Linked DNA regions of Homo sapiens: region 1 is linked to region 2. The links are contacts of gene promoters, found by promoter capture Hi-C in human tissues and cell types (Jung and others, 2019). All regions are on one chromosome and are shown on one strand. Each heading gives the region's core, a stretch centred on a gene start or on the middle of the fragment in contact. The rest is flanking DNA. Distances are from core to core; before and after follow the strand shown. Region 1 has its middle 45 kb from the start of CHRNB4. Region 2 holds the start of HYKK (hydroxylysine kinase).

What was found. The method cuts DNA at HindIII sites, captures the fragments that hold promoters and counts their contacts. A contact is called where the count stands out against the background at its distance.
Region 1: a fragment that was not itself captured here is called in contact with the fragment with the promoter of HYKK in region 2 in 1 of the 25 tissues and cell types used here (pancreas).

The regions. Positions count from the first base shown.
Region 1 is chr15:78,683,167-78,689,611 of GRCh38, reverse strand. No RefSeq gene overlaps it. Among named protein-coding and RNA genes, the nearest start is that of CHRNB4, 45 kb to the right of the region's middle. The HindIII fragment of the contact is 4,734 bases long and covers 1-3,673 here.
Region 2 is chr15:78,503,739-78,510,344 of GRCh38, reverse strand. HYKK (hydroxylysine kinase) reads right to left here and starts at 2,768. Exons shown (of 5, transcript NM_001013619.4): 1 at 2,674-2,768. The HindIII fragment of the contact is 18,918 bases long and covers 1-6,606 here.

The DNA of each region.
Region 1 (6,445 bases), core at 57-2,556, 180 kb before region 2:
CTACACTGGCTTTAAGAACTAATCTTAAAAACATGACAAGAGGCCAGGCGCAGTGGCTCACACCTGTAATCCCAGCACTTTGGGAGGCTAAGGTGGGCAGATGACCTGAGGTCAGGAGTTCGAGACCAGCCTGGCCAACATGGTGAAACCCCGTCTCTACTAAAAATAAAAAATTAGCTGGGAGTGGTGGCACGCACCTGTAGTCCCAGCAACTCAGGAGGCTGAGGCAGGAGAATCGCTTGAACCCAGGAGGCAAAAGTTGCAGCAAGCTGAGATCATGCCACTGCACCCCAGCCTGGGCGACAGAGTGAAACTCCATCTCAAAAACAACAAAAAATGAAAAGAACATTCACTATAGAGCTGTTCATAACTGAAAAAGATTAAAAACAACCTAAATGTCTACTTATAATGACCAGATAAATAAATCATGATACATTCATGCAGTGGGATTATATGCAGTTGTTGAGTGAGATAGCTCTAGATATAATGATACAAAACAATCTGCAAGACATATTATTAAGAATACTTAATGTGTGAGCCACCAGGCACAGTGGCTCACACCTGCAATCCCAGCACTTTGGGAAGCTCAGGCAGAAGGATGGCTTGAGCTCAGGAGTTTGAGACCAGCCTGGGCAACATAGTGAGACCACATCTCTACAAAAGCAAAAAAATTAGTCGGGTGTGATGGCACACACTTGTGTTCTCAGCTACTTGGGAGGCTGAGGTGGGAGGATTGCTTGAGTAGGTGAGGTCGAGGCTGCAGTGAGCTATGATTGTGTCACTACACTGCAGCCTTGGTGACAGAGCAAAACCCTGTCTCAAGAAAGAAAAAGGTTATCAGAAAGATGCAGGAACAATATGCCAGGTGTAGTAATACTTGTGTGAAAATATATTTAAAAATACTATTGAAACCTAGATGCTGAGCATGCTTAGACCCTCTCAGAAAAGATACACAAGAATGCAGTAACACTGGTTGTCTCTTGGGAGGGGAGCTGGGGCCTGGAGGGGGAAGGGATAGGAGAGAGATTCACTCTTCACTCTAGGTCCTTTGCATCTTTTGAATTTTGTACTCTATGCATGTACTATCTATTCAAAAACAAACACAGATGGTCCCCAGCTTATGATGTTGTATTTTTTTTTTTTTTTTTTGAGATGAAGTTTTGCTCTTGTTGCTCAGGCTGGAGTAAATGGCACAATCTTGGCTCAATGCAATCTCTGCCTCTCAGGTTCAAGTGATTCTCCTGCCTCAGCCTCCCAAGTAGCTGGGATTATAGGCATGTACCACCACCCATGGCTAATTTTTTGTATTTAGTAGAGACGGGGTTTCACCACATTGGTCAGGCTGGTCTTGAACTCCTGACCTCAGGTGACTCACCTGCCTTGGCTTCCCAAAGTGCTGGGATTACAGGCGTGAGCCAACATGCCCTGCCCCACAATGGTTTGAATTAATATTTTTTGACTTTACAATGGTGCAAAAGTGATACACATTCAACAGGAACTGTACTTCAAGTACACATATAACCATTCTGATTTTCACTTTCAGTATTCAATAAATTACATGAGATAGTCAACATCTGATTATAATATAGGCTTCGTGTTAGATGATATTGCCCAGCTGTAGGCTAATGTAAGTGTTCTGACCATGTTTAATGTGGGCTGGGCTAAGCTATGAGGTTCAGTAAGTTGGGTGTATTAATTGCATTTGTGACTTACAATATTTTTCTTTTACAGTGGGTTTATTGGGAAGTAACTCCACAGTAAATGGAGGAACATCTGACACTACACACAATGGGACATTATTCTGCCTTAAAAAGGAATAAAATTCTGATACATCTTACAACATAGATGAACCTGGAAAACATGCTAAATGGAATAAGAGACAAAAAGACAAATCTTTATGAGTCCACTTACATTAGGTACCTAAAATAGGCAAATTCACAGAGACAAAAGTAGAATAGTGATTATTAGGGGCTGGGGGAGAGGGAATGGGGAGTTACTGTGGAATGGCTACAGCGTTTCTGTCTGGAATGATGAAAAAGTTCTGGAAATGGATAATGGTGATGGTTGTACAGCATTGTGAATGCACTTAATGGCAGTGAACTGTACACTTAAAAATGGTTAAATGGTATGTTTTACATTACAGACATTTTACCACAATAAAAACCAAATATATAACATAATCTATTTTAAAATAAATGTTTTACGATTTCAGTGTCTAACGACCACTTAATGAAAATCCACCGCCTCCAGTGGGAGTATGTGACAACCAAGAGCCTGAGCTTTGGAATCAAACTGAACGGAGTTGGACTCATGCCTCCACCATAACTAGTTTTGTCACCTTATAAATTAACCTTCTAGAGTAGAAGTCAGTAAACTCTTCCTATAAAGGGTTAGACACTGAATATTTTAGGCTATGCAGGCCATATATGGTTTCTGCTGCAAGCAACTACTCAATGTAAATGGCAGCAGCCATAGACAACACATGAATGAATGAACAAGGCTATGTTCCAGTAACAACGGGCAGTGGCTGGATTTGGCCCACAGGCTACAGTTAATCAATCTCTGCTCTCAGTTCCCACATTTGTAAGATAGGGACAATAATATAACTACCTCATAGGGCTGTTGTGGGAATAAATGGGGCAATGTGTCAAATTCTTTGCTAAATGCTTTATGTATAAAAAGTAAGCCAATAAATGTTTGTTTTTGTTGATGTGGTTGTTGAGGTAGATGCTGAGAATGCAGAAGAAGAAAGCCACATTTATGGAACACCTACTGTAAACATACTAGGGCCAACTCTTAATGCGACAGGATTTCATTTGTTATTTTTATTAGTTACTTGATCAAAACATCTCATGTTGGCATGGAGCTTCGTGCTTTGGGTCCATTAGCTCGTTTCATCTTCCTGATTACTCTCTGGGGTAAATGTTCTGAATCAGGAAGCCAGACCTCCGAGGTCACCCTGCTAGGGAGAGCAGAGACAAGGTTTGAAACCTCAGCCATCTTATTCCAAAGACTGGGTTCTCAACCAAGGGTGGTACTGCCCACTTCTACTCCACTCTGTTCCCTCCACCCTGGGAGATTTGGAAATGTCTGGGGCTTTTTTTTTTGTGGGGAGGAGGGTTTTATAAGAATGAGGAGGCACTGTTGGGGTTTAGTGACCAGGGTCCAGGAATGCTAAAGGCAGACTCGTTTAAATGTCTGTAAAACAAAAAATTATCCAGTCCCAAATGGACTCCCAAATATCAGTGGTGCTCCACGTCATGCTGCCCAGATGTGACTCCATTACCACCCTGCCTTGAGCAGCTCACAGTCCTACGGGGAGACGGTGCACTGGAGCACAGATTCTTTCTGTTTCCCTCTAAATCTGCATGAAAGGCAGTGCGGTGTAATAGAAAGGCCGCTGGATTGTCAGAGGCTAAAACCACTGACTTGACCATTGAACAGCTGTGCAAAGTAGGGCAACTGGCTTGACCTCTCTGGGCTTCAGTATCCTCAGAGTGAAAAGAGGATCCTGACACATGCCTGTCCCCTTTTAGGGATGTAACTAGGATCGGATGGAGCAGCAGTGTGAAAGTGCATACCTCTGTACGAAGACGTGGCGTGTTACTAAGTGAATTGTAAAGCAATTGTCAACAAAATAAAGCTCTTCCCCTTTAAATCTTGAGTTTGGCTTCTAGAGGCTGCATGGAGGTTTTATCTAACAGCCCAGGTGCAGATGACTCCACCGACGGCTCCTCCTGCCCCCAAAATTGAGATTTAGCTTTGGTTGCATCTCCAGCAAAACCAGCCAGGGTGAAAAATGAGCTCAGAAGAGAGCGACTGTGCTTCCTGTTGGCCATACCTCCTCAGGGTCATAAAGAAGCCATCCATTCCCAGCCAGAGACTAGGCCAGAAAAGGGCCGGAACAGCCTGATGGGGTCACTTGTGGGTCAGGCCCCACAAGCCATTTTTCCCCCAGGACGGGAGGGAAAGGGTTAATAGCGCCTTTGGTCAAAATGCCAAGTTGGAATCAATCTACATAAATGTCAAGCCTGCTCCGTATGCAAAAAATAAGGAGGTGCATCATAGCAGGAAGTCTGTCTGCAGAACAAGGTACAGATGTCTTTTCTATAAGGCTCTGATTTCTCTTTTTCTACTCAGAGCCCAGATGGCAGCTGGGTCCCCTGCCTCTTCAGATCTAGCTAATTGTGGTCCTGCCTCTGCAATTCCACACGTCCTGAAGGCTTCCCCAAACTCTCTGCAAGGGCCTGGGGTCTGGCATCATGCCTCACATGGCCTGTGCCCCTGCATGCCCTTGTCAACCCAGCAATGAAACTTGATCCATTCTCTAGTTTCAAAAACAAAAACAGGAAAAACAATCCCAGGAGGATCCCAAAGAGAGAGAAGAATTTGATGAAGTTTCCCATGCAACACAGTAAGCAGCTTTGTATTGCAGCAAAAAGGTGTTGGAGTCAAACTTCTAGAACCCAAATCCCTTACTTATGTAATGGGGCGACCTCAGAAAGTCATTTCACCACCAGGTTTGATATTTTCATCTGTAAAATGAGGTTGTCAATTTCTACATTAAAAAGCTGTTGTGAGGACTCAATTAAATTTGTCATGTAAATGGCAGGCACATAATACTTGCCCATTTCAGTTAGAGCTCTTGGCTACAGATTGATTTATTTAAATCACTTCCTTTTATTTAAAAGGAATGTGTAGGCTGTTCAAACTGTAGTCTGGCAACCCGCCATGTGTAGGCAGAATTGGATCAGGGCTCTTCTCTCTTCTGTTTCCTTTTCTGTCCTCCAGCCTTCCTCATAGTCATAAAATGACTGCAGCTGTGCCAGGTATCACATCTACCTTCTGCAGCATCCAGAAGAAAGCTCTTTTTCCTTTGCCATGGGACAAAAGTCCTAGGTTTTTCTCTGCTCAGAACACTTAAGGTCAAGTTCCCACTTCGGAAGCCATCATTGAGGCTGGGGGCATACCATTCCATGATTGGCTTGGCATAGGTGATAAAGGGGTGGGATTACACTCTGTACCCTGAGGTACCCCAAAGTCCAGGTTCCTCCATGTGTAATCCTGTCTTCACATCTGTGTCCCCAAAGCCTGGCACAACATTTGACACAGAAGAAGACGCTCAGTAAGAGCTTATTGGATGAATGATGCTCGTCGAATGAGGATTATAAAGTCTAAGGAGAGAATAAGTGTGTGTGTGGTTAGAACATCTAATCATTCTCTGAATCAGTTGTTCAGTCAGTGGTAATTTCCCAGATATTCTTTTCAATGAAATCCCAGGTTGCAAATGTTGACCTTTGCCTTTTCCCGGACAGCAGCTTGCTTCTCCTGGTAACACCTGGGAAAGCCTAAATACATCTCCTTGCCAGGCCTTGTGAGCTGTCTGAAGGCTGCTGGTGCTGCCCCTGCTGCCTCTGCACAGCTCACTCAAGCCAGGGAGCATGAGAGTAAAAACTCCAATTCCATTTTTAATCATTGAGTCCAATAAGGGAGATTAAATTTATCTTTTTTTTTTTTTTTTTTTTTTTTTGAGATGGAGTTTCACTCTTGTCACCCAGGTTGGAGTGCAATGGCTCAATCTCAGCTCACTGCAACCTCTGCCTTCCAGGTTCAAACTGTTCTCCTGCCTCAGCCTCTCGAGTAGCTGGATTACAGGCGCCTGCCACAACGCCTGGCTAATTTTTTGTATTTTTAGTAGAGATGGGGTTTCACCATGTTGACCAGGCTGGCCTCAAACTGCTGACTTCAGGTGATCTATCTGCCTTGGCCTCCTAAAGTGCTGGGATTACAGGTGTGAGCCACCACGCCGGGGCTTTTATTTTTATTTATTTTTTTAATTAGAGTGTGTGGGGAGGCAATCCCCAGGTAGCCATCCTGAGGGACGTTCTCTGCAGCTGACATGGAGATCCTGACAAGGTGAAGCTACAAAATCTGGGGGACTTGGCCAGGTGCGGTGACTCATGCCTATAATCCTAGCACTTTGGGAGGCCGAGGCAGGCAGATCACTTGAGGCCAGGAGTTTGAGATCAGTCTGACCAACATGGCGAAACCCTGTCTCTACTAAAAATACAACTTAGCTGGGTGTGGTGGCGCGTGCCTGCAATTCCAGCCACTTGGGAGGTAGAGGCACGGGAATTCCTTGAACCTGGAAGGCGGAGGTTGCAGAGAGCTGAGATCCCACCACTGAACTCCAGTCTGGGCGACAGAGTGAGACTCTGTCTCAAAAAAAAACAAAGTCTAGGGGGAGCAGAGCCATGGCACCCACAAAGAGGGACACTGACCCCCGGGGTGTGGCAGAGGAGGTGGAACAGCTGAGCCCCACACTTCAGAGAACCCCTGTCCTGGGCCCACTGGAGCACACAGCATGGGAGGTGAGGGACGCAATGAAGCCAGGTCACACAGCATTCAGCTGGGGCTGCCCAGAACCCCCACGGCCAACACCCAG
Region 2 (6,606 bases), core at 1,519-4,018:
GGGCATGGTGGCCGGCGCCTATAATTCCAGCTACTCAGGAGGCTGCGGCAGGAGAATCACTGGAACCCAGAGGGGTGGAGGTTGCAGTGAGATGAGACTGCGTCACTTCACTCCAACCTGGGCGAAAGACCAAAATTCCATCAAAAAGAAAGAAAAGTAAAGAAAAGAAAGAAAAGAGAGAAGAGAGAGCAAGAGAAAGAAGAAAGAAAGAAAGAAAGAAAAGAAAGAAGAAAGAGAGAGAGAGAAAGAAAGAAAAGAAAGAAAGAAAAAAAAAGAGAAGAGAAAATAAGGGAGAGGTAACCCTCAAACGCTAACCACCCCCTAGCCCCTGCCATGGCCTTCCCTGATCCTCCTACCCAAAGTGATTGCTCCAGCCTCTTAACTTGCATAGCTTGTGCCACTGATCGGTTTCCATCACCTGTTACTGCAAGTTAATGCCTTCTTGACAATCATGTTTCCTGTTTACTTTCTAACCAGGCATTTGCTTTCAGAAGCAAGTTAAGCCGTTCAGATTTTGTTCACTGAAGGTACTGTGACAAAGCCTAAATGGAGTTTCAAAACAATCTTTGCACTTGAAACTTCTGGGAACCAACATATCCTGTCACACTGTATTTAGGCTTAAAACTTTACAAGGAATTTTAACATTCTTTCTGGAGATATGTAAACTGGTATAAGGTAAGTATTCAAAATGCAATATGGACTGAAGCATTAACTCCAAGATGAAATCCTGGAGTCATTTTCAACTCCCAAAGCGTTAACGATGTCAGAACAATTCTGAATTTGAAATGAATGATAAGTTCTTAAAGTTGTAAGGAACCTTAGAGGCAACTGGTGAAGGCCAATCTCCTTTCTATTCCAGATGTTCCCATACAATCTTTGACTTGTTAAGCTCCTCTTAGGAGAGCGCTGTTTTCCATAGCCATGTAAAGCAAGGTTGTTAGCTCTGGCCATCCAAATAGACTGATGTAATAAAAGGCTGTGCTGGGAGAAATAGGACATATTTTAGTCCCAGTTCTGCTACCTAACCTCTGAAACTCTGGACTAGTCATGTCTCCTCTAAAACAGAGTTGGATTAGATTATTACTAAAAGTCTCCTCTAGCTCTAGTATTCCATGCCACTAAAGTTCTTTAAGTTCGCCTTTTTTCTTTATATAAGCGCTCCATATCATAGAACTAATGGCACAGATCAAGTCAACTCTTGAGAGTAAATAAAAACAAAGAAAAAAATATGTTTATCAGACATGTCTGTCTTAACCAAATGTCTCCTTTGTATGGAGGGGAATTTTTTTTTTTTTGTTTTTGAGACAAGGTCTCTGTCACCCAGTCTGGAGTACAGTGGCACAATCACTGCTTACTGCAGCTTCCAACTCCTGGGCTCAAGGGATCCTCCCACCTGAGCTTCCCAAATAGCTGGGACTGCAGGCAGGTGCCACCATGCCTGGCCTTTTTTTTTTTTTTTTTTTTGGAGAGAGAGGGTCCCACTATGTTGCCCAGGCTGGTCTCGAACTTCTGGGCTCAAGCAATCCTCCTACCTTGGTCTCCCAAAGTGCTGGGATTACAGGTGCAAGCCATCATGGCTGTCTTTTTGATTTTATTATTTTTATTTTTTTAGAGACAGTGTCTCGCTATGTTGCCCACTCACACATTTTTAAAAATTATTAACTTTTTTTCCTACTTCATTGAAAGGGAGAGGAGGAATTCAGGTACTATAGGCTGTTGGTCTATATATCCGGCCAACAGTATTTAGCTCCTGAAAAAGCCCGCAGGAAGCAAGTGTGATTTCCAACTCCAAGATCTGCGTCAGAATCTCACCACCTTTGTCCTGCAGCCGGGAGGGGGCTGGAACTTAAGCTCTGTACTTTGTGCAAAGTATACCAGACAAGAAACAGGAGTCATTCTTGATTCTTTCCTGTCCCTCACTCCCAACGTGTAACAAAGTCTAGTAAATTCTACCTTAGCATGTCTTCCAACTCTACCTTTCTTCTCCTACATTCCCTTTTGCTGCGTCCTTCCAAGGGATTATACCCAGTCAATCTCTGTATTCTCAGCCCCTAGGCTAGTCCCTTATTTAATATTAAATGGTGAACCAAGGGTGACCTTCATTCCACAGACTCACGGGGCAGTTCAACCCCAAGGGGATCATGAAACAGAAAGGTGGGGAATCTAGCATCTGCAGTTTTTCAAAGACAACAGTGCATTACTAGGTGCTTTTAAGGGTCTTCCTGGTGGGTGAAGGGGAAAAAGTGGTGGGTGAGCGGGCTGCAGAGGGGCTGCTGAACCAAGAGGCAGGAAAAGAGAGGAGGAGGGCGCATGAGTAAGTGAGGTTCAGCGGAGCTCAGAGACTGCTCCCAGTAGACACCGGCCAGGCGCCGGCACAGCCCTCGGCCAGCGACCCCACACAGACCCGGGAGGGCTGGCCTCGACAGCTTCTCGGGTGCCACGCTTTCATTCTGGGGGCCCAGCTCAGCCCTCCTAGGTTACAGGTGAGGTCCGGGAAGAAGGGTGACTTGCCCATCACGCACGCAGCGAGCTGAGGATAGCGCGGGCTGGAGGAGCCTGAGGCATAGGACTCCCGGCTCCACACTTGCAGCGAGCCTCCCTGCCCTCGGGGGCGACCCCGACTCCCGCAGCGGGGACGCAGGGCTCGTCTCTGCTTCCCCCTCCTTGGCTCACCGGCAGCGACCCGACGTCCTGGGGTGGATCCCGCTTTCCCGCAGACAGGTAGTGCGGCCTCGGCCGCGCACCGGCGCTAGGAGGTAGAGCAGGGGCCGCAGCGCCCGCGCCCCTCCTCCAAGCCCCGCGAGTCCTGACTTCTGATTGGCTCCTCCCGGTCCCTCGCCGCCCAGTCAGCGCAGACTACTGGATTTTTTTCCCGGCCCCGCCTAGGAGGCTGCGAACAGAAATTCAGAGATTCGGCTTCTGTTGACTTTCTGCAACTCCGCCCAGCCTTCTCACAGTGAGTATCCCAGTCAGAATCCGGCTACCTTTTCATGAACCGGACTCCTTATTCCTGATTGGCTCTCCGGGTTGCCGCCCCACCCCGAGTGGGCAGGCTTTCGGCTCTTGAGTGGCACCTCCGAGTTTCGCAGGGTCCACGTTGTCGTGGCGGTAACACTGACAGCTCCTCACCCGCATCCACGTTTTTGTTTCCTAGCCTTCATTCCTTCTGTTGGAGGCACGTATCCTGGAAGTGATACGCTTAGAAAGCGTGGCCCCAGAGAGACTCGCAATCCCAGCCCCAGGAACTGTAAGGGTCCTGATTGGAAGGCCTGAGTAAGGCCTGGCTGCGTTCCGCAGGAGGATGCTGGAATGTTAGAACCCGAACAGTTTAGGCAGGGCGCAGATGGCTCACGCCTGTAATCCCAGAAATTTGGGAGACCGAGGCGGGAGGATCACCTGAGGTCAGGAGTTCGAGACCAGCCTGGCCAACATGGTGAAACCCCTCTCTACTAAAAATACAAAAATTAGACTCAGGGGGTATGTCTGCAGCTGCAGAAAGATGTATGGGAACAGACACACAACTCTCCCTCCGAGATAAGCACAACAAAGAGACACAGAAGCAGTCCAAGCCTCTGATAAACTCTCCCACTCCGAATCCTTAAAAACTTACTTAGTCTGTAAGAGAGTGTGCCTCTGACCTAACTTGGCCAGACGCCCCTCTCAGGTTTTCTCTAAAATAAACCTCTTATGACCACCAAGCCACTTTTCGTGTTTCTTTCCTCTTTCTTTAATTCTTACACCGAGTAGTTGGGATTACAGGGGCCCACCACCACGCCTTTATCTAGGTAGTGGAATCAGTGGGCTCTCTTTCTGCAGGAAAGTCCGCAGAGACCCCATGATTTTCAGAAAGCTGCACGAGATTCATGGAGTAACAGCCAGGTTAGTTGGATGGTCTTAACTGTTAAGGGCATGAGGCGCTGATAAACAGCTTGATGCCCTTCTCCAGCCAAGCAGGACTTCTCCGATAAGTCAGAGCCCTCTATCTACTGTAGGCTACTGGAAGAGAGTCCTGGGTACTGGTCCACTCATGCCTGCAAATTGGTTTCTTATTTTGTTTTTGCCAATGCACATCCACCCTTTGTTTTCTGTCAGGATATAACACACTCGGATTATCTATAGTCACCCTGATTAACTTGGATGATTCCCAGACCCCTATCAACCACCTACTGAGGGAAGCTTCTTCTCCTGCTTTAGATATGGTTCTTACCTGCTTCACTTCTAATCTCCAAAAGGCAGGGCTGTTTTTCACAACCCCAGGGGAACATAATTAATATCTCATTCCTTTAGATTGTCAAAGAGTGATTTTGACTTGGATTTTTCTGTAACCAGAATTGGAATCCTATTGGCTCCCTTAGGCCCCTCTGCATGCTTTTTGCCTTGAGTGGCTTCTGAGTTATTTCCACCTGTCATTATTCCAGCTCTACTGGTCTTTCTCTACTTCTCTTGGGATGAGGGAATGGGAATTAAGATTGAATCTGGAAATTGTGAGAATTGGAGGCAGGGCTATTGGATCCACAACTGCCCTCTTTGGTATGTGCATTTCCACTCCCTGAATTCTTCTGAAATATAGTATTTGGTAGGGTGTGGTGGCTCACGCCTGTAATCCGAGCATTTGGGGAGGCCGATGGAGGTGGCTTACTTGAGTTCAGGAGTTTGAGACCCGCCTGGATAACATGGTGAAACCCCATCTCTACTAAAAAGACAAAAATTAGCCGTGCGTGGTGGCTAGCGCCTGTAATCCCAGCTCCTAGGAGGCTGAGGTAGGAGAATCGCTTGAACCTGGGAGATGGAGTTTGCAGTGAGCCGAGATCGCACCACTGCACTCCAGCCTGCATGACAGAGCAATACTGTCTCAAAAAAGAAAAAAAAAAATGTACTTTGTAAATTGCCTTTTTCACTTTAAGTGACCATTTCCTTGTTTTAAAGAATATCCTCGGCCGGGCGCGGTGGCTCACGCCTGTAATCCCAGCACTTTGGGAGGCCGAGGCAGGCGGATCACAAGGTCAGGAGATCGAGACCATCCTGGCTAACACGGTGAAACCCCGTCTGTACTAAGAATACAAAAAAATTAGCCGGGCATGGTGGCGGGCACCTAGAGTCCCAGCTACTCGGGAGGCTGAAGCAGAATGGTGTGAACCCAGGAGGCGGAGCTTACAGTGAGCCGAGATCGCGCCATTGCACTCCATCCTGGGCGACGGAGCGAGACTCCGTCTCAAAAAAAAAAAAAAATAATAATATCCTCATACATAAATCTTTCGTGCACTTTATGTGTTTAAAACTGCTCAGCATCATATTACTAGGTATAAGAGAATAAACACTTTTAAGGCCTTTTTATTTTTTGAGACAGGGTCTCACTCTGTCACTCGGGAGTGCAGTGGCGTGATCTCAGCCCACTGCAACCTCCGCCTCCTGGGGTCAAGGGATCCACCCACCTCAGCCTCCCGAGTAGCTGGGACTACAGGTGCGCATCACCACGTCCGGCTAATTTTTTGTAGAGACGGGTTTCGCCATGTTTCCCAGGCTGGTCTTGAACTCCTGGGTTAAGCAATCCTCCCACCTCAGCCTGGCAAAATGTTGGGATTAGGGGCGTGAGCCACTGCACCCGGTCTAAGCCTCTTAATACATGTTGTCAAATCATGTTTTCCTCTCAATAATACCAACATTGGATTTTAAACATTTACAACATTTACAACATTTTAAAAAGTTCCACCAATGTAAGACAAGATGCGTTGTCATTTTTTTTTTTTTTCTTGAGACAGAGTCTTGCTCTGTCGCCCAGCCTGGAGTACAACAGTGCGGTCTCAGCTCACTGCAACCACCGCCTCCTGGGTTCAAGCGATTCTCCCGCCTCAGCCTCCCGAGTAGCTGGGACTACAGGCACATGCCACCATACCCAGCTAATTTTTGTATTTTTAGTAGACACGGGGTTTCACTATGTTGGCCAGGCTGGTCTCGAACTGACCTCGTGATCCGCCCGCCTTGGCATCCCAAAGTGCTGGGATTACAGGTGTGAGCCACCGTGTCCGGCCAGATATGTCATTTTAAGCGGGGCATGGTGTTGCATGTCTATAGTCCCAGCTACTCCAGGAGGCTTGGGCAGGAAAAGTGCTTGAGCCCAGGAGTTCGAGGTCAGCCTGGGCCACATAGTGAGACCCGTTTCTAGGGGGGAAAAATGTCATGTCATTGTATTAACGTTTCTTCAGTTGGCTACTGGAGCACTTTTAAGTAGTTGCTCTCAAACATAGCTCAGTGGCTGGTCATGGTGGCTCATGCCTGTAATCCCAGCAGTCTGGGAGGCTGAGGTGGGAGGACTGATTGAGGCCAGGCGTTCAAGACCAGCCTGGGCAACACAGTGAGACCCCCACCTCTATTTTTATAATTTTTTTAAAAAAGAGCTCAGCGATAAAAAAAAAAAAAAAACAAAACTGGAGTGAAACAAAATGAACAATTTGCAGTGAGATTATGGACATGATTTTACATTATAAAACAATGTCTCATAAAACAATATCCCAGCAGTTTTATGATACTTCCTTTATATATTACAAGTTGTTTAAAATGCTCAAAATTGGCTTTAGTTTCCACGGTGGGCTACAGCTAAAGCAGCAC